6 separate regions of the Homo sapiens genome follow, and all the other regions are linked to region 1. Evidence: promoter capture Hi-C in human tissues and cell types (Jung and others, 2019). All regions are on one chromosome and are shown on one strand. The core of a region is centred on a gene start or on the middle of the fragment in contact, and the rest is flanking DNA. Distances in the headings are between cores, read along the strand shown. Region 1 holds the start of PPIB (peptidylprolyl isomerase B). Region 2 overlaps ZNF609 (zinc finger protein 609). Region 3 overlaps ZNF609 (zinc finger protein 609). Region 4 overlaps ZNF609 (zinc finger protein 609). Region 5 overlaps ZNF609 (zinc finger protein 609). Region 6 overlaps ZNF609 (zinc finger protein 609).

Region 1 (3,018 bases), core at 170-2,669:
TCTCTGGCTATGGCAGCCTGAGACCAGTGAGTGAAGAAAGAGGCTTAACAAAATAGGAGAAAAAAAAAAAAAAGGGATGAGAGATGGATCTGGAAGATCATCTTTGTCAGTATAACAATGTTTAAAACTTCCTCCTGATTGGGGTTGTCTGAATTGAGGTGCAAGGATGGGAAATAAGAGAACTGTCTTGAAGCTCTACAACCTGTGTAAGGCCGCTGTAATGAACAACAAAGTTAATGCCAGTGGCCTTGCATAACTTCAGTCTCAGGTCAGCGCCTCATGAAGACTACATTGCATAATTTATGTAAATGGAGCCCTGCCTATAATCTGTGCTGTGACGACCTGGAATTTCTACGAAGTTAATCGTTGAAAATTAGTTTTAAAGACGTTTTAACGCCATAGGTCCAAATTTTGGAAGTTTGTGTTTTGGTTTGTTTTGGTGTGTAAGACTCCCAGTACCAAAGTATCTATGTTGTAGATTGGGACAACACTAAGTGTGTGAAGACCTAAAATAGCCCTGTGGGGACATCTAGTAACTATTCCTGACCTCCGGAAAAAGGCATTGTATCCTCAGGCCGTGGCATAAATTATTTCTCATGTCAGTGCGGATGTGAAGCTATCCCAACCAGGACTTGTTGGGCACTCAGTACTGCCGCGCTGTGAGGGAGCTGTGGACAGAGTAAATGCAACACAGTCCCTTCCGCAGAAAAAAAAAAAAATGTAGTCTATTGGGGGAAAAGGTAAAGGAAGTTAAGAACAGCGTATACAATAAGATGTCCATTGATATACACAACAGTAAGCACAGCAAGATTACAGAAGGGAGAGAAAAATGGGTAGTAACTTGACGGCCTCAGTAAAAAAGGAAGTGGGTTGTGCAGCAAGTTTTGCAAGACAAGTGGAGGAGCCGTACAAGGCCACGCTCGGTAAGGATAAATGTCCCTGAAGTGTTTGGAAGCCACAACGTTTAGAGCCAATTTGGCGGTGACAAACACTTGACTGGCCCAAAACAGTGACAAGCTTCCCGTGCCCCTTGTCCAGGCCCACGTATTTGCTAACCTCAAGCGCCAGCTACCGCAGGCCAGTGGAACAGCGCTCCGGGCGGGGCGGGCCGCGGAGCATGCCGGGGCTTGTGGTCTTCTCGGAGCCCGGGCCCGTGCTCTGCGAGGCCGCCTTCCGCCGGTGGCCTTCCTGTGGGCGGGAGAGGGCGGCCGGGAGCCCAATGAGGGAGCAATAACGTGGCAACCACCCACGAGCCCGCGTCGGTGCCCGCCCCGCAGGGGGACCTACTATCCGGCGCCGAGCCGGAGGGGGGAAACGGCGCCCGCCGCCCGCCCGGAGCCCGCGAGCAACCCCAGTCCCCCCCACCCGCGCGTGGCGGCGCCGGCTCCCTAGCCACCGCGGCCCCACCCTCTTCCGGCCTCAGCTGTCCGGGCTGCTTTCGCCTCCGCCTGTGGATGCTGCGCCTCTCCGAACGCAACATGAAGGTGCTCCTTGCCGCCGCCCTCATCGCGGGGTCCGTCTTCTTCCTGCTGCTGCCGGGACCTTCTGCGGCCGATGAGAAGAAGAAGGGGCCCAAAGTCACCGTCAAGGTCCGGTGGAGTCCGCGGCATTTACGGTGCCGGAGCTCGGGCCCGGGCGGCCTTGGCTTGGCCTTGGCTCAGCCCCTCCTCCCTCGGCTTCTGTCTGTGGCCTCGTGGCGTCTGGGCCGTCCTGCCCATTCAGTCCAGGGAACGACCCGGACCCACCCCGACACCCCCAGCCCCTGCCCTGACCCAGGGAGTTAGTTGGATCCCCGGATACCCATCTGGGGCCGACACTGGCAGTCTCAGAGCAGGCTTTTTGCAAACACCCCTCAGTGCTGGGGAGATGGTGAAAGATCACGCCTGCCGGATTCCGAATCCTTTCTCTCCTTAAGCCAAATTTTAGCCACTTCCAATTACAAAGCACAGTATGTATACTTCAAACTTAAGTGGTGAACTTAGGCTCCGCTCCTTATGGGTTTTCTAATGTTAATTTTTAGAATCTGGGTCCATTAGCTGTTTAGAGCAAATATTGTTATCCTGTAGTCCAAGGAGGGTATAGATAAGCATGTTTTCCAAGAAAAGGGTCTGGAGCTTTCATTAGATTCTCATAGGATTTTTACCGTCACCAAAATCAGATTCAGAACCACTTCTCTAAAAATATGGCTCTATTCTCTCTCCCATCCTCAGGTTAGCTTCTTGTACCTTCCCTCCCCTAGCAACGCCCCTTTAAAGAAGCTAAGTTGGAAATGGTCTCTTTCCTCAGGTGTATTTTGACCTACGAATTGGAGATGAAGATGTAGGCCGGGTGATCTTTGGTCTCTTCGGAAAGACTGTTCCAAAAACAGTGGATAATTTTGTGGCCTTAGCTACAGGAGAGGTAAGTGGCTGGAGCAGGGGTAGTCAACTCACATGAAGTGAAATTGGCACTGGGGATGGCAGCAAACTGACCTGCAGAGTTCAGCCGATCTGTAGCGTGGACCTCACTGAGCACCGACTGCCTGTTGCCCTGGGAACACAGTATTGCCCTTTCTTAAGAGTAATGGGGCCCTGACCAGGCACAGTGGCTCACACTTAAAATCCCAGCACTTTTGGAGGCCAAAGTAGGAGGATTGCTTGAGCCCAGGAGTTCAAGGCCAACCTGAGCAACATAGCAAGACCCTGTCTCTACCCCCGCAAATTTTTTTTTTTTTTTGAGACGGAGTTTCACTCTTGTCGCCTGGGCTGGAGTGCAGTGGTGCGGCCTCAGCTCACTGCAACCTCCGCCTCCCGGGTTTAAGTGATTCTCCTGCCTCAGCCTCCTGAGTAGCTGGGATTACAGGCATGCGCCACCACGCTTGGCTAATTTTGTATTTTTAGTAGTGACAGGGTTTCACCATGTTGGCCAGGCTGAACTCGAACTCCTGACCTCTGGTGATCCGCCTGCCTTGGCCTCCCAAAGTGCTGGGATTAGAGGTGTGAGCCACTATGCCCGGCCAAAAAAAATTTTTTTTAATTA
Region 2 (3,018 bases), core at 266-2,765, 480 kb before region 1:
AAGCACAGTAAGGGTAGCTAACAAAGTCTGTTTTAAGCATTCATACTCCTCTTCTTATTATAATGTGACTTAGTAGATGATTGCCTGGTCCAAAGACATGTATAATAAAAACAAAGCTACCCATTGGATCAAGAGCTCATCCATCAATTTTGCCCACCATCTATGGATGGCATTGCAGGTCACTTGGATAGTATCCACTTTGGACTTACATGCAAGACTTAGCAACAGTCCTTGGGCACCAAACCATTTTATAAGTTTTCTGCAATTTACAGTTGAACCCTCAGACTCACATATCAAGGCAGAAGCTCTGGTAAAGGTATACTTAGGTATGTAACACTGGATCCATCATCTGTTATATTTTAAAGACCTCTGATTCTTTTTATTATTTTTCTTTTTGTTTTTTATTGACACAGGGTCTCACTCTTGTCGCCTAGACTGGAGTGCAGTGATGTGATCATAGCTCACTGTAACCTCACACTCCTTGGCTCAAGTGATCCTCCCTCCTCAGCTTCCTGAGTAGCAAGGACTAGAGGCACACACCATCATGCCCAGCTAATTTTTAAATTTTTTTTTGTAGAGATGAGGTCTTGCTATATGTTGACCAGGCTGGTCTTGAATTTGGCTTAAAGCAGTCTTCCCAAAGTACTGGGATTATAGGTGTGAGCCATTGGCCTTGGCCTTCTTTTTCTTTATTCTTTTCCTCTTTTTAAAAAAAATTTGTCTTGGACAAGATGTTGTTGTTTAAAATAAATAAATAATACAAATAAAAAGCTTGTTCCCACATATATTTTGAGACAGGGTCTTGCTCTGTTGCCCAGGTTAGAGTATACCGGCAAGATCATGGCTCACTGTAGCCATGACCTCCTGGGCTCAAGTGATCCTCCCACCTCAGTTTCCTGAGTAGCTGGGATTACAGGTACATACTACCATGTCCAGCTAATTAAAAAAAAATTTTTTTTTTGATAGAGAAGGGGTCTTGCTATGTTGCCCAGGTTGGTCTAAAACTCCTGGGTTCAAGTGATCCTCTTGCCTCAGCCTCCCAAAGTGCAGGGATTACAGGCATGAGCCACCACACCTGGCCTACTTTGTTACCTTGTTCCCTTGAAAGTTGTATTTCCTTAGCTTGGTCAGAAAAATAGTAAGTGTTAAGCCTAATGTCCAGTGCTAGTATGAATAGTTAACAATAAATATTAATAATTGTTGCTGACACACTTTACACTGGTGCCAAATTGTTGTTCAATTTGGTCCTATTCTCTAGAAGTTGAATATGCCTTCAGTTATGGTCTTCTCTTTGCTTTCCTAGTAAAGTCCTCTTTACTCTCTCTAGACCTCTTATAATGGCCAAAGGTCCTTTTAACCACCACTAAATGATCAAAAACCTGTTAATGGTGTCTATGTAGTTCCTATTTTTATTTCTAAAGGAGAATGACAGACATATTTGTTTACTGATGTTCGGAGTAAGGGCAAGGAGGAAGATGCAGCTACAACCAATACCTCAACTCCCAGTCAGTACTAGTAGTTTTCTAAAGTTTTCCCACTCCAGTTTTCTAGTTCTCTTTAGAGGTTGAGGTGGAGAAACAGATCGTATGAAAGTAAATAAATTATAGTTTCTGGCCAGGTGTGGTGGCTCACGCCTGCAGCAAGGAATGTTGCAGGAAATTGGTAGGACTGAGAGCTGAGGGAGAGTTGCAAGAGGATGCCTGTGAGGAAGGCTGGTATGGAACTCTACATGCTACTACCTCTGCAGAAGCCTCAGATGGGAGAATGTAGAAATTGTTTCCTTCCCACAGCTGATCTCTGGTATGTTACTGTCTAATAATTAACTTTGACATGTGATTAGAGAGTATGTGCATTTATGAGCGCTATTTCCTCCAGGATGAAAGTTCAAACCAGAGATGTAGAGAAAGGGTAAATATATTCAGAAACTTCCAAGAGTGAGTTGCCTCCAGAAATGAAGAAACTAGAAAGAATTAGACCATGTGTGGTTACGTACTAGCTAAGATTTTCTTCTTAAATTGGTGCATAGTTGTTATCTGAAAACCATTTAAAAAAATTTTAGATTTACAGAAAATGAAAACCATTATAATAATAATTATTTTTTGAGACAGGGTCTTGCTCTGTCACCCAGGCTAGAGTGCAGTGGCACAGTCAGGGCTCACTGCAGCCTCGATCTCCCAGATTCGAGAGATCCTCCTGCTTCAGCCTCCTAAGTAGCTGGGACTACGGGAGTGTGCCACTTGCCTGGCTAATTTTTTTGATTTTTGGTAGAGAAGAGGTCTCATAGTGTTGCAGAGGCTGGTCTCGAACTCCTGGGCTCAAGTAATCCTCCCACCTTGGCCTCCCAAATTGCTAGGATGACAAGTGTGAGTCACTGTGTCTGGTCAAACTTTTTTTTTTAAACTGTCATACTGGCTGGGCGTGGTGGCTCACACCTGTAATCTCAGCACTTTGGGAGACCAAGGCAGGAGGATCACTTGAGGACAGGAGCTTGAAACCAGTCTGGTCAACACAGCGAGACCTAGTCTCTACAAAAGAAAAAAAAAGTTAGCCAGACATGGTGGTACACGCCTGTGGTTCCAGCTACTTGAGAAGTTGAGGTGAGAGGGTTGCTTGAGCCCAGGAGTTGGAGGCCGCAGTGAGCCATGATTGCACCACTGCACTCCAACCTGGGTGACAGAACGAGACTCTGTTTCAAAAAAATAAAAACAAAAACAAACCAAAAACCTGTATTTTAGCTCCAAATTTGTTGCTGCAATGCAAATTATTAGAGAGAATGCTTTTGCCATGCTATAAATACTCATGCCCTACCAAATTTCATGTAGGCAGAACCTCCAATCAGATTAACAGCAACATCTCTAGGTTTTTATCCTACTTATCCTGGCAAACCATTCATCCTCAATTCATGGATCTGACTGTAAGGAAGGGTCAAATTACGTACGAGTCTTCCAAAACCAGAAACCTAAAGGCAGAAATGTGGTTACTGTTCCTTTAGAGAGGATACTTCCAAAGAGAATCTAT
Region 3 (3,018 bases), core at 288-2,787, 450 kb before region 1:
CCAATTCTTCCAGTACACCAAGACAAGAACCTTGGGATACAGAAAGCCCTCTGTTCTTGTGATAAGGCAGGGGTCTAATTGAGCTAACACAAGCCGCCTAAGGACAGCTAAACTAAAAGAGCACCCTGTAACACACACCCACTGGGGCTTCAGATGTAAGCATTCACCCCTAGACACTGCCGGGGTTGGAGCCCCATAGCCTGCCCCTCTGTATGTTACCCTACAGGTCTGAGCAGCAGGGCAGTGAAGAAGTGAGCCACACTCCCATTGCACGCCCTGTGAGGGGGACAAGGGAACTTTTCCCATTTCAGGAGGAAAGTTTTGTCCCGGGGGTGAAGGCTGCAGTGAGCTGTGATCGTGCCACTGTACTCTAGCCTGTGCAACAGAGCAAGACCCTGTCTCAAAAAAGGAGAAAAAAAAATCAGAAAAGGACTCATTTTGCCATCTTTTCATATACCTAAAATATAAGAGCAGGGATTGTCAGGAAATTGGGGCCAAGAGGGAAAATAAGGTATAGGAATATTAAAAAGTTAAGGTCATTAGATGCCTTAATAACTACACCAACAAAAGTTAAGCTAATTCTCAGTCTTTGAAATGCTAAGAAGTGCCATCATGGCTCCTAGGGCTTAGCTTACTAGGGAGGTAAACAACAAAACAAAAGCTTGAAAAGAGACTTATAGAGAATTTAAAGAGGAGATCTCTGGAGTTTCCCAACACTTTATGTCCTTTATCTTTTAATACTTTTTGTTTGTTTGTTTGTTTTTTGAGATGGAGTTTCACTCTTGTTGCCCAGGCTGGAGTGCAATGGCGTGATCTCAGCTCACTACAACCTCTGCCTTCCAGATTCAGGCGATTCTCCTACCTCAGCCTCCCAAGTAGCTGGGATTACAGGCTCCCACCACCATGCCTGGCTAATTTTTCTATTTTTAGTAGAGACTGGGTTTTGTCATGTTGGCCAGGCTGGTCTCGAACTCCTGACCTCAGGTGATCCAACCGCCACAGCATCCCAAAGTGCTGGGATTACAGACATGCCTGGCGATAATTCTCTTTTCTTTGAGACAGGGTCTCGCTCTGTCGTCCAGGCTGGAGTGCAGGGGGTGATCATGGTTCACTGCAGCCTCAACCTCTCTGGCTCAAGCAATCCTCCCACCTCAGCCTCCCAAGTAGCTGGGACTACACGTGCACCACCATGCTAGGCTAATTTTTTTTTTTTTTTAATTTTTTGGCCGGGAATGGTGGCTGATGCCTGTGATCCTAGCACTTTGGGAGGCTGAAATGGGAGGACTGTTTGAGTCCAGGAGTTTGAGACTAGCCTGGGCAATACAGTGAAATTTTGTCTCCAAAAAAAACAAAAACAAAAACTTTGTAGAGACAAAGTCTCCCTACGTTGCCCATCCTAAAATGATACTTCTCAATTTACCTTTACATAGCAGTTTAAGGCCGGACGCAGTGGCTCACGCCTGTAATCCCAGCACTTTGGGAGGCTGAGGCAGGTGGATCACCTGAGGCCAGGAGTTCAAGACCAGCCTGGCCAACATGGTGAAACCCCATCTCTACTAAAAATAAAAAATTAGCCGGGCATGGTGGTGTGCACCTGTAATCCCAGCTACTTGGGAGACTGAGGCATGAGAATCACCTGAACCCGGGAGGTGGAGGTTGCAGTGAGCTGAGATTGCACAATTGTACTCCATCCTGGGCGACAGAGTGCAAAAAAAAAAAAAAAAAAAAAAAAAGCATGGTGGCTCACACCTGTAATCCCAGCACTTTGGGAGGCTGAGGCGGGTGGATCACAAGGTCAGGAGATCGAGACCATCCTGGCTAACACGGTGAAACCCCGTCTCTACTAGAAATACAAAAAATTAGCCGGGTGTGGTGGCGGGCGCCTGTAGTCCCAGCTACTCAGGAAGCTGAGGCAGGAGAATGGCGTGAACCTGGGAGGTGGAGCTTGCAGTGAGCCGAGATCACGCCACTGCACTCCAGCCTGGGCGACAGAGTGAGACTCCATCTCAAAAAAAAAAAAAAAAAAAAAAAGATATCAGTTTAATAACATATATAAGGATCTCAATGTTGGTAGGCAGATGACACAGAAATGGGGACTTGAGAGAATAGAGAAAGGCCAGAGTCATTCATCTCCCCACAAAGAGTAATTATAACTATATACCTACTTCAACTGCCTCTCACAGATGAGAGGCACTGATGGACAAAAATCTTCATGGCTGCAACATAACTTTACAGGTAGAAAATACACTGAAGGCCAAATGTGATGGTTTATACCTGTAATCCCAGCACTCTGGGAGGCCAAGGCGGGAGGATTGCTTGAGCTGAGGAGTTCTAGACCAGCCTGGGCAACATGGCAAAAGTCTATATTTACAAAAAATAAAAATGAGCTGGGCATGGTGGCACATCCCTATAGTCCCAGCTACTTGGGAGACTGAGGCAGGAGGATGAGGCAGCAGCTATGACTGCACCACTGCGCTTCAGCCTGAGCACCAAAATGAGAGACCCTATCTGAAAAAAAAAGAAATTCATTGAAGAGATATTTGAGATAGACCTTGCCTTTTCCCCTTCACAATGAGTCTTGTATCTTCACCTTCACAGACAAAAACGCAAGAAGGAAGTTAGTTCTACTGATAACAGCAGTAGTTCTAAGAAACTTTGTTTTATCCAAAAATAAAAAGGTAGTTGGGGATGTTGGTACATGAATGTTCAGATTTATTCAGAATTATCAGATAAGATTGTGTAGAAAGTAAGATGTCACTAGCTGGGCACAGTGGCTCACGCCTATAATCCCAGCACTTTAAGAGGCCGAGGCAGGTGGATCACCTGATGTCACGAGTTCAAGACCAGCCTGACCAACACGGCAAAACCCCGTCTCTACTATAAGTACAAAAATTAGCCAGGCATGGTGGTGCATGCCCATAATCCCAGCTACTCAGGAGGCTGAGGCAGGAGAATCGCTTGAACCCAGGAGGCAGAAGTTGTAGTGAGCCGAGATCGTGCTATTGCACTACAGCCTGG
Region 4 (3,018 bases), core at 314-2,813, 420 kb before region 1:
ATGGACATAGAATTTACCAAGAATTAAGCCAGGAATAGTGTTGGAGAGGGTGACTCTGAGCCAGGAACTAAAAAAGCCTTTAAAGAATGAGGGAGGACACTGGCAAAATTGGCAGAGTAAAGGATCTTTGAAAATTCTCTTCTCCATAAAACAAAAATTGTCAAAATCAAGTTTTTCAGAATTCTGGAAATTAACACCAAAGGCTTACAACAATCTAAGAGCATTTATTCAAGCAAAACGCCTGAATATCAGTAAGAAACATTGAGCTTTGTTAGCACCTTAACTTGCCCTACTCCCATCTCCTGCTCTGAAAAATCAAAAGCCTGCAATCACAGTGAAAAAGCAGCAGCTTGACAATCACTAGATGGGGCAGAACAGGGTTGGCGTGCCTGTGAAGCTTCATTCCCAGGGAATTATCATTATTTGACCTTTCCGGTGGTTCCCTGGAAGGCCCCACTTGCAAGGTTATCTATATCTGACCAGACTCAGAGCTTACCCAGCATAAAAAGCCTTTTCCCTGGGAGGTAGGAGTATTTGTGAAAAATATAGGGAAGTGCTTAACTTTGTGGCTGCCTGACCAAAAAAACTTAAAAGGAAAAGCTGGGGAAGGACATGTTCACAGGGCTTTCCTGGAAATCTAGAAAGCCGTATGTTTTCTAGATTGTCTGAGAGTAGAAGAAAATCTTTAAAAAAAGCAAGCCACATGTATGCACAAGGACGTATACATGCCCAGGGCTGAGGCCACGCTCAGTAAAGTACTGAGAAGGCCCTAAACTCTCACCTCCGGTTGACCTTGAAGCTCTGCACAAGCAGAAAGTGAAGGCTAGGCCAGGATGGTGACATGCATATAGTCCCAGCTACTCAGGAGGAGGAAGCAGGAAGACAGCTTGAGGCCAGGAGTTCAAGGTCACAGTGTGCTATGAGTGTAACTGTGAATAGCCACTGAACCAGCCTGGGCAATATGGTGAGACCCCCGTCTCTAAAAAAATTTAAAAATAAAATTGTCTGGGCAACAGAGCGAGACTGTCTCAAAAAAAAAAAAAAAAAAAAAAAAAAAAGAAGACATTGAAGACTAGAAAACAGAGTTGTCAACTGCTGAGTATTTAATTCTATATCCAGCAAAACTATCCATTAAAAAACAAGGAAAAATTAAGATATTCCCAGATAAAAAAGAACTGAGAGGCTGGGCGTGGTGGCTCATGCCTGTCATCCTAGCACTTTGGGAGGCCACGGTGGGAGGATCACTTCAGGTCAGGAGTTCGAGACCAGCCTGGCCAACAAGGTGGAACCCCATCTCTACAAAAATTAGCTAGGCATGGTGGCGTATGCCTGTAGTCCCAGTTACTCGGGAGGCTGAGGCAGGAGAATCACTTCAACCCAGGAGGCAGAGGTTGCAGACTGCACCACTACACTCCAGCCTAGGCGACAGAACGAGACTCTGTCTCAAAAAAAAAAAAGAAAAGAAAAGAAAAGAAAAGAACTGAGAGAGTTCATTGCTAGTAGACCTGCCCTACAAGAAATACTAAAGGGAATCTTTAAGTGAAATGACAGGGCACTAGGCAATAACTTGAATCCACACAAAGAAAGAATGTTAGTAAAGCTAACTCCCCCATAGCTGTATTAAATGACAGCAGCAATAAGAAACTATTACCATAAACTCAGTGGCTTAAAACAATGCAAATTTATTATCATACAGTTCTGGAGTTCAAAAGTCTAAAATGGTTCTCTCTGAACTAAAATTAAGATGTCAGCAGGGCTGCATTTCATTGTGGAGGCTCTAGGAGATAATCCATTTTTCTTGCTTTTTCTAGGCTTTAGGAGGCTGTCTAAATTCCTTGGCTCATCCCCTCCCTCCATCTTCAAACTAAGTAGTATACCATTTTTAAATCTCTCTCTGACTCTGACTCTCTTGCCCTCTTCTTCCCTTACAAGAACCCTTGTGATTACATTGGAACCATTGGATAATCTAAGCTAATCCCCCCACCTCAAAATCCTTAATTTAATCACATCTATAAAATCTCTTTTGCCAGGTAAGGTAACATATTCACAGGTTCCAGGGAATAAGAAATAGATTTTTTTTGGAGGAGGCAGTATTCTGCCTACCTGCCATAGTAGGTAAATACAAAAGACTGTATAAATGTATTTTTTATTTATAACTTTTTTCTCATATCTGACTTAAAAGACAACTGCATAAAGCAATATTTATAATATGTGTTGATGGGTATACGTCATTTGTATGACAATAATAGCACAAAGGACAAAGAAGGGAACAGAGCTATACAAAAACACAAGTTTTTTTTTTTTGTTTGTTTGTTTTCCTGTGTCGCCCAGGCTGGAGTGCAGTAGCAAGATCACAGCTCACTGCGACCTCTGCCTCCTGGGCTTAAGTGATTCTCCTGCCTCACCCTCCCAAGTAGCTGGGACTACAGGCACCTACCACCACACCTAATTTTTTTTGTACTTTTAGTAGAGACAGGGTTTCACCATGTTGGCCAGGCTAGTATCGAACCCCTGACTTCAAATGATCCACCTGCCTAGGCCTCCCGCACCTGGGATTTCAGGTGTGAGCCAGTAGGTCTGGCTACTTTTTTTTTTTTTTTTTTTGAGACAGGGTCTTGCTCTATCACCCAGACTGTAGAGCAATGGAACAATCACAACTGACTGCAGCTTGACCTCCTGGGCTCAACTCATCCTCCCACCTCAGCCTCCCAAGTAGCTGAGACTATAGGCATGCATGTACCATCACTTCTTTGCATGTACCATCACTTCTTTTTGTTTTCTCTGTTCTAGCTAATTCTTAAATTTTTTGTAGAGATGGGTCTCCCTACACTATACACAATAGAACATATCTATTTAACACAAAAGAGGGCTGTGATGGAGGGAAAGAGGAACAAAAAAGACATAAAAAAATAGCAAAATGTAGATGCAAATCTTTTTTGTTTTATAATTTTTAATGAAAATTTTTTTAATTTTTAAAAAATCCAGATCCTGCACAATTTTGTTGTTTTTTCTGAGACA
Region 5 (3,018 bases), core at 314-2,813, 390 kb before region 1:
GGTATAAGTACCCTTGGAGGTAAAAACAATGGGTCAGAAATGAAAAGAAGTCATAAGATAAAAGCTGGACCCTTACCTTATACCATAACAAAAATTAATTCAAAATGAACCAGCTGGGCAGAGTGCATGCCTATAGTCCCAGATATTCAGGAGTCCGAGGTGGGAGTACTGCTTGAGCCTAGGAGTTGTGAGTCCAGCCTGGGCAACATAGTGAGACTTCACCTCAAAACAAACAAAAAAAAGGGACCATCCTAAATGTAGAAGCTAAAATTATAAAACTCTTAGAGAAAAACATACAGGAAAAGCTTCCTGACATTGGATTGGCAGTGATTTCTTGACTAAGACACCAAAAAGTACAGGTAACAAATGTTAAAATAGATAAACTGGACTTCATCAAAACTGAAAACTTATGCATGAGAAGACTAAGAAGACAACCTACAGAATGGGAGAAAATATTTGCAAATCATGTTTCTTTTTTTTTTTTTTTTTCCCGAGACAGAGTCTCACTGTGTCACCCAGGCTGGAGTGCAGTGGCACGATCATCGGCTCACTGCAATTTCCACTGCCTGGGTTCAAGCGATTCTCCTGTCTCGGCCTCTCAAGTAGCTGGGATTACAGGCATGTGCCACCACACCCAGCTAATTTTTGTATTTTTAGTAGAGACAGGGTTTCGTCATGTTGGTCAGGCTGGTGACCTCAGGTGATCCGCCCACCTTGGCCTCCCAAAGTGCTGGGATTACAGGCATGAGTCACTGTGCCTGGTCATCTATTCCTCTTTTTTTTTTTAATTATTTATTTTTAAAAACAGGGTCTTGCTATGTTGCCCAGGCTGGTTTTAAACTCCTGGCATCAAGCAATCTTCCTGCCTTGGCTTCCCAGAGTGCTGGGATTAGAGGCATGAGCCACCATACCTGGCCTGCAAATCATACATCTAATAAGAGATTAATATCCAAAATATATAAAGAACTCCCACAATTTAACAACAACAACAACAACAACAACAATAACAACAACAAACCCCAATTCAAACCTGGGCAAAACACTTGAATAGATATTTCTACAAAGAAGATACACAGCTGGGCACAGCAGCTCATGCCTGTAATCCCAGCACTTTGGGAGGCTGAGGTGGGTGGATCACTTGAGCCAAGGATTTCAAGACCAACCTAGACAACACTGTGAGACCCCATTTCTACAAAAAAACAGAAAAAAATTAGCTGGGTGTGGTGGTGCATGCCTGTAGCCCTAGCTACTTGGGAGGCTGAGGTGAGAGGATCCATTGAGGGAAGTAGAGGCTGCAGTGAGCTGTGATGGCACTCCAGCCTGGGCAATATAGCAAGACCCTTGTCTCTTAAAAAAACATGAAGAAAAGAAAAAAATTAGTTTGGCGTGGTGACAGATACCTGTAGTTTCAACTACTTGGGCGACTAATGTAGGAGGATCACTTGGGTACAGGAGACTGAAGCTGCAATGAGCTGTGATTGCACCACTGCTCTCCAACCTGGATGACAGAGTGAGATCCCATCTCAAAAATAAATTAAATTAAGCCCAAAAATGAAAAATAAAAAACATGGACCAAAAATCAATGGTTAAGATGGTAAATTTTATGTTATTTGTGTTTTCTTTCTTTCTCCCTGTCTCCCTCTCTCTCTCACTCACACACACACACACGAGTACAGACTCTGAAGCCAGATTACCTGGCTTTGAATTTTGGCTCTGCCAATGTAACCTTGGGAAAATAACCTAACTGCTCTATGTCTCAGTTTCCTCAGCTGTAGATGGGGATGATATTAATAGTACCTACATCATTAACTGTGAGGATTAAATTAGTAAATATACATACACTTCTTACAACAGTCTTGGCACGGTGGCTCATGCCTGTAATCCCAGCACTTTGGGAGGCCTTGGTGGGTGGATCAGCCTAGCTGTTGAAACATGGTGAAACCCTGTTTCTACTAAAAATACAAAAAAAGATTAGCCGGGCGAGGTGGTGTGCACCTGTAATCCCAGCTACTCTGGAGGCTGAGGCAGGAGAATTGCTTGAACCCGGGAGGCGGAGGTTGTGGTAAGCCAAGATTGCGCCATTGCACTCCAGCTTGGACTACAAGAGCTAAACTCCGTCTCAAAAAAACCAAACCAAACCAAAACCAAAACAAACAAACAAAAACAGTCTTGAAACACAGTGGGTACTATTTTATTTTTAAGTACTTATTATTATTAGATTCACCATTTTGAAAATAAAATTTAATGTGGAATTTAGACCTACAGGCAAAACTGAATTTCTCCTATGCAAAACGGAATAAAAAAAATTCATGTGCCTAAATTTCAGGGTTTTCAGGTGAACTCTTGACATGAAGCCTTTATATCCATATACCCATCTTTGCACCAGCATTACCACTACATGAACAGAAGAAAGATTTCTGTATCATCTTTTTTAAAAGATTTCATTTATAATTTTGAATATTTCATCTCAAGTAGGTTGTTTTGACATATATGCAGAACAAATAACTCTCTAAGAATTTCTCTTCAAGGGCTGTAAGCAGTTTATTATTCTTTCTTTCTTTTTTTTAAAGACAGGATCTTGTTCTGTTGCCCAGGCTAAAGTGCAGTGACAAGATCACAGCTCACTGCAGCCTCAACCTCCTGAGCTCAAGTCCTACTTTAGCCTCCCAAGTAGCTGGGAATATAGGCACATACTACTATGCCCAAGTAATTTTTGTTTTTGTTTGTCTTTTGTAGAGATGGGTTTTGCCATGTTGTCCAGGCTGGTCTTGAATTCCTAGGCTCCAGCAATCTGCCTACCAGAGGCTCCCAAAGTGTTAGGATTACAGACATGAGCCACCTAGCCCAGCCTAAGCAGTTCTATTAACTGAGCACATTCACTAGAGTCTATTGATTCATCGACTTGTAAAGAAAAGCATTTGATTTAATAGCCATCTGGTGTAGTGTTGTTTCTTTGGCATCTCACATTTTGTTAGAGTGTACACGAGTAAAATTATTCAAAAGTGGCACCTTTTTTAT
Region 6 (3,018 bases), core at 158-2,657, 350 kb before region 1:
TAATACTATTCTGGTCCAGCTGTCTTGCTAACTATGCTAACAGCTTCCTAAATGCCTCCAATCTTGTTCTCCAATCCACTCTGCAGATGACATCAAGAGTAATTCTTCAAAAACTCAAAAATCAATCACTGTAATCCACTAAAAAGTCTAACAATAGTTTTCTGCAGATGTTAGGATGAAATCCAAATCCTTTAACAAGGCTTTTAAGGCCTTCTACTATCTGACCCCATAGCACTCCAGCCTCATCTTACCATTCTATTCCTCCTCCTCCAGTCATAGTGAACTTCTTCCAGTTCTTCTCATGCCTCAAGATTAGTCTTACCACTTAGCCTTTGATTATGCTATTCTCTCACCTGGCACAAGCCTTTTGCCCTCTCTCCCATCACCTGTCTAATTCCTGCTTATCCCTTTGGGTCTCTGTTTAACTATCAGAGAGGTTAGAGATCTCCATCACCTCTTTTGAGCAGAGATCTTCCTTGATCCTACACTATACTCTGGCCACCACTGTGCACCCACAATACCCTATGTTATCATTACTCATCAAAGTTTGTTATAATAACCAATTTATCTGTCTCCCACATTAGAATATAAACTCCAGGAACCCAGCACGATGGCTCACGCTTGTAATCCCAGCACTTTGGGAGGCCATGGCGGGTGGATCACTTGAGCCCAGGGGTTCAACGTGGTGAGCCTGGGCAACATGGTGAAACCCTGTCTCGACAAAAAATCCAAAATTGGTCAGGTGTGGTGGCACGCACCTGTAGTCCTAGATACTTGGGAGGCTGAGTTGGGAGGATCACTTGAGCCCAGGAGGCAGAGGTTATAGTGGGCCAAGATTGTGCCACTGTACTCCAGCCTGGGTGACAGAGTGTCTAAAAATAATAATAATAATATATATGTATAATTTTTATTTATATATCATATATATACACACACTCCACAGAGCAGAGACCACATCCATTTAACTTTTATTTTTTTAGATGGGATCTTGCTATGTTGTCCCAGCTGGACTTGAACTCCTGGGCTCACAGGAACTTCCCACCTCAGCCTTCCAAGTAGCTGGGACTACAGGTGTGAGCCACCATGCCTGGCTTCAACTCTTTATCCTAAGTGCCAGCACACTGTATAGCACATGGTAGTTATTTAATAATTATTTGTTGGATGAACTGAATGAGTATCCATAAATTTGAACTGCTTGACTAGGATAGCCCTCCAACCTGTAAGTCCAGAAAAACATTAATTTTGTTATAAAGCATCCCATATAGGATCTGTTGAATCACAGGGAATTTTGTTTTGTTTTGTTTGAGACAGAATCCCCCTCTGTCACCTAGGCTGGAATGCAGTGGCATGATCTCGGCTCACTGCAGCCTCCACTTCCCGGGTTCAAGTGATTCTCCTGCCTCAGCTTCCTGAGAAGCTTGGACTACAGGCATGCACCACTACACCCAGCTAATTTTTGTATTTTTTAGTAGACATGGAGTTTCACCATGTTGACCAGGCTGGTCTTGAACTCCTGACCTCAGGTGATCCACGTGCTTTGGCCTCCCAAAGTGCTGGGTTTATAGGAGTGAGCCAGCGTACCCAGCCCAGAGGTAATTTTAAAATCAGCTAATGCTATATTTTTAAAGCAAGAAGCTTAAAACTCGCAATTAAATAAGGAAGAGCCAGACAAACATTATCAAGTAAAAAGTTTCCGGAGTAGGGGTTAAGGAGAGAAGAAATTGATATAGTATAAGGGACTGCTGGAACCTGGTGAAAATTTTTAAAATCAGAATCATCCTGAGAGTTGATAAGCTAAGACTGGACTTATTGTTCGGTAGCCTGATTAATTCTGGAAATGGTTCTGAAAGATACAGAAACACATAAGAAGGATAAATGCAATTATAAGGAACCATCCCTAAGATAAGATCAATACAAGATTAAAAATATATATATATTCTTAATAAATGCCCAGTATATAGTGGCACCACAATAAAATCTAAGTTTTCTTTAAAAGTATTATTTGGGTGGGCATGGTGGCTCACACCTGTAATCCAACACTTTGGAGGATTGAGGCAGGAGGATCATTTGAGCTTAAGAGTTTGAGACCAGCCTGGGCGACATGGTGAAACCCCATCTCTACCAAAAATACAAAAATTAGCCGGGTGTGGGTGGTGGCGCATGCCTGTCATCCCAACTACTTGGGAGGCTGTGGCAGGAGAATCTCTTGAACTCAGGAGGCGGAGAGCTTGCAGTGAGACGAGATCGTGCCATTGCACTCCAGCCTGGGCAACAGAGCAAGACTCTGTCTCAAAACAAAGCAAAAACAAACAAAAAAACCCCACCTCTATGAGGTTTCTGCTTAACTCAGCAAGACTGAATAAACGAAAAACAAATACAAATAAATTTTAAAAATTAAAAAATATACTCCAGGGGGGCAGGGGAATGGAAGAGATTAAAGTAGGATTGGCCTGGCCCTTTTCTGCTTCAGGTTATTAGATATAAAACAGGAAGGAGGGTGAAATATGACTAAGGAATAAGAACAATAAGAGATCTGAAAATTTTAGTCAAATATGAAAAAGTCATTGGGGTTTTATTTTCCAACTATCTTCCCTGACTTTTCTCTGGCCTGAATGCCACTTCAGGTTGATAATTTACTACCAACTACAGACAGCCCTACCTAACTTGGTTTCTAAACAAGTCGATCTTTTCTTCTGTGACATGAGGACATTTACCTGCTTAGTTCTTTTTTTTTTTTTTTTTGAGACGGAGTTTCGCCTTTGCTGCCCAAGCTGGAGTGCAATGGCGCGATCTCAGCTCACTGCAACCCCCGCCTCCCAGGTTCGAGCAATTATCCTGCCTCGGCCTCCCGAGTAGCTGGGATTACAGGCGTGTGCCACCACGACCGGCTAATTTTTTGTATTTTTAGTAGAAATGGGGTTTCACCATGTTATCTAGGCTGGTCTCGAACTCCTGACCTCAGGTTATTCGCCTGCCTCGGCCTCCCAAAGTGCTGGGATTACAGATGTGAGCCACTGC

Evidence for each region. The method cuts DNA at HindIII sites, captures the fragments that hold promoters and counts their contacts. A contact is called where the count stands out against the background at its distance.
Region 2: a fragment that was not itself captured here is called in contact with the fragment with the promoter of PPIB in region 1 in 1 of the 25 tissues and cell types used here (lymphoblastoid cells).
Region 3: a contact is called between a fragment that was not itself captured here and the fragment with the promoter of PPIB in region 1, in 1 of the 25 tissues and cell types used here (aorta).
Region 4: a fragment that was not itself captured here is called in contact with the fragment with the promoter of PPIB in region 1 in 1 of the 25 tissues and cell types used here (stomach).
Region 5: a fragment that was not itself captured here is called in contact with the fragment with the promoter of PPIB in region 1 in 1 of the 25 tissues and cell types used here (mesenchymal stem cells).
Region 6: a fragment that was not itself captured here is called in contact with the fragment with the promoter of PPIB in region 1 in 1 of the 25 tissues and cell types used here (lymphoblastoid cells).

What each region holds. Positions count from the first base shown.
Region 1 is chr15:64,161,423-64,164,440 of GRCh38, reverse strand. PPIB (peptidylprolyl isomerase B) reads left to right here and starts at 1,419. Exons shown (of 5, transcript NM_000942.5): 1 at 1,419-1,589; 2 at 2,287-2,400. The coding sequence starts at 1,455. RefSeq lists enhancers at 905-954, 1,061-1,561, 1,505-1,754, 1,562-2,062, 2,296-2,860 and a silencer at 1,095-1,454. The HindIII fragment of the contact is 5,042 bases long and covers 1-2,518 here.
Region 2 is chr15:64,641,877-64,644,894 of GRCh38, reverse strand. The region is part of intron 3 of ZNF609 (zinc finger protein 609); the gene reads right to left. Among named protein-coding and RNA genes, the nearest start is that of OAZ2, 60 kb to the left of the region's middle. The HindIII fragment of the contact is 6,546 bases long and covers 1-3,018 here.
Region 3 is chr15:64,615,528-64,618,545 of GRCh38, reverse strand. The region is part of intron 2 of ZNF609 (zinc finger protein 609); the gene reads right to left. All of the region lies in intron 3 of LOC101930091 (a long non-coding RNA gene), which reads left to right. Among named protein-coding and RNA genes, the nearest start is that of OAZ2, 86 kb to the left of the region's middle. RefSeq lists an enhancer at 327-919. The HindIII fragment of the contact is 4,834 bases long and covers 1-3,018 here.
Region 4 is chr15:64,578,996-64,582,013 of GRCh38, reverse strand. All of the region lies in intron 2 of ZNF609 (zinc finger protein 609), which reads right to left. The region is part of intron 4 of LOC101930091 (a long non-coding RNA gene); the gene reads left to right. Among named protein-coding and RNA genes, the nearest start is that of ZNF609, 120 kb to the right of the region's middle. The HindIII fragment of the contact is 4,653 bases long and covers 1-3,018 here.
Region 5 is chr15:64,548,311-64,551,328 of GRCh38, reverse strand. All of the region lies in intron 2 of ZNF609 (zinc finger protein 609), which reads right to left. All of the region lies in intron 4 of LOC101930091 (a long non-coding RNA gene), which reads left to right. Among named protein-coding and RNA genes, the nearest start is that of ZNF609, 89 kb to the right of the region's middle. The HindIII fragment of the contact is 3,265 bases long and covers 1-3,018 here.
Region 6 is chr15:64,515,663-64,518,680 of GRCh38, reverse strand. The region is part of intron 2 of ZNF609 (zinc finger protein 609); the gene reads right to left. Among named protein-coding and RNA genes, the nearest start is that of ZNF609, 57 kb to the right of the region's middle. The HindIII fragment of the contact is 5,470 bases long and covers 1-3,018 here.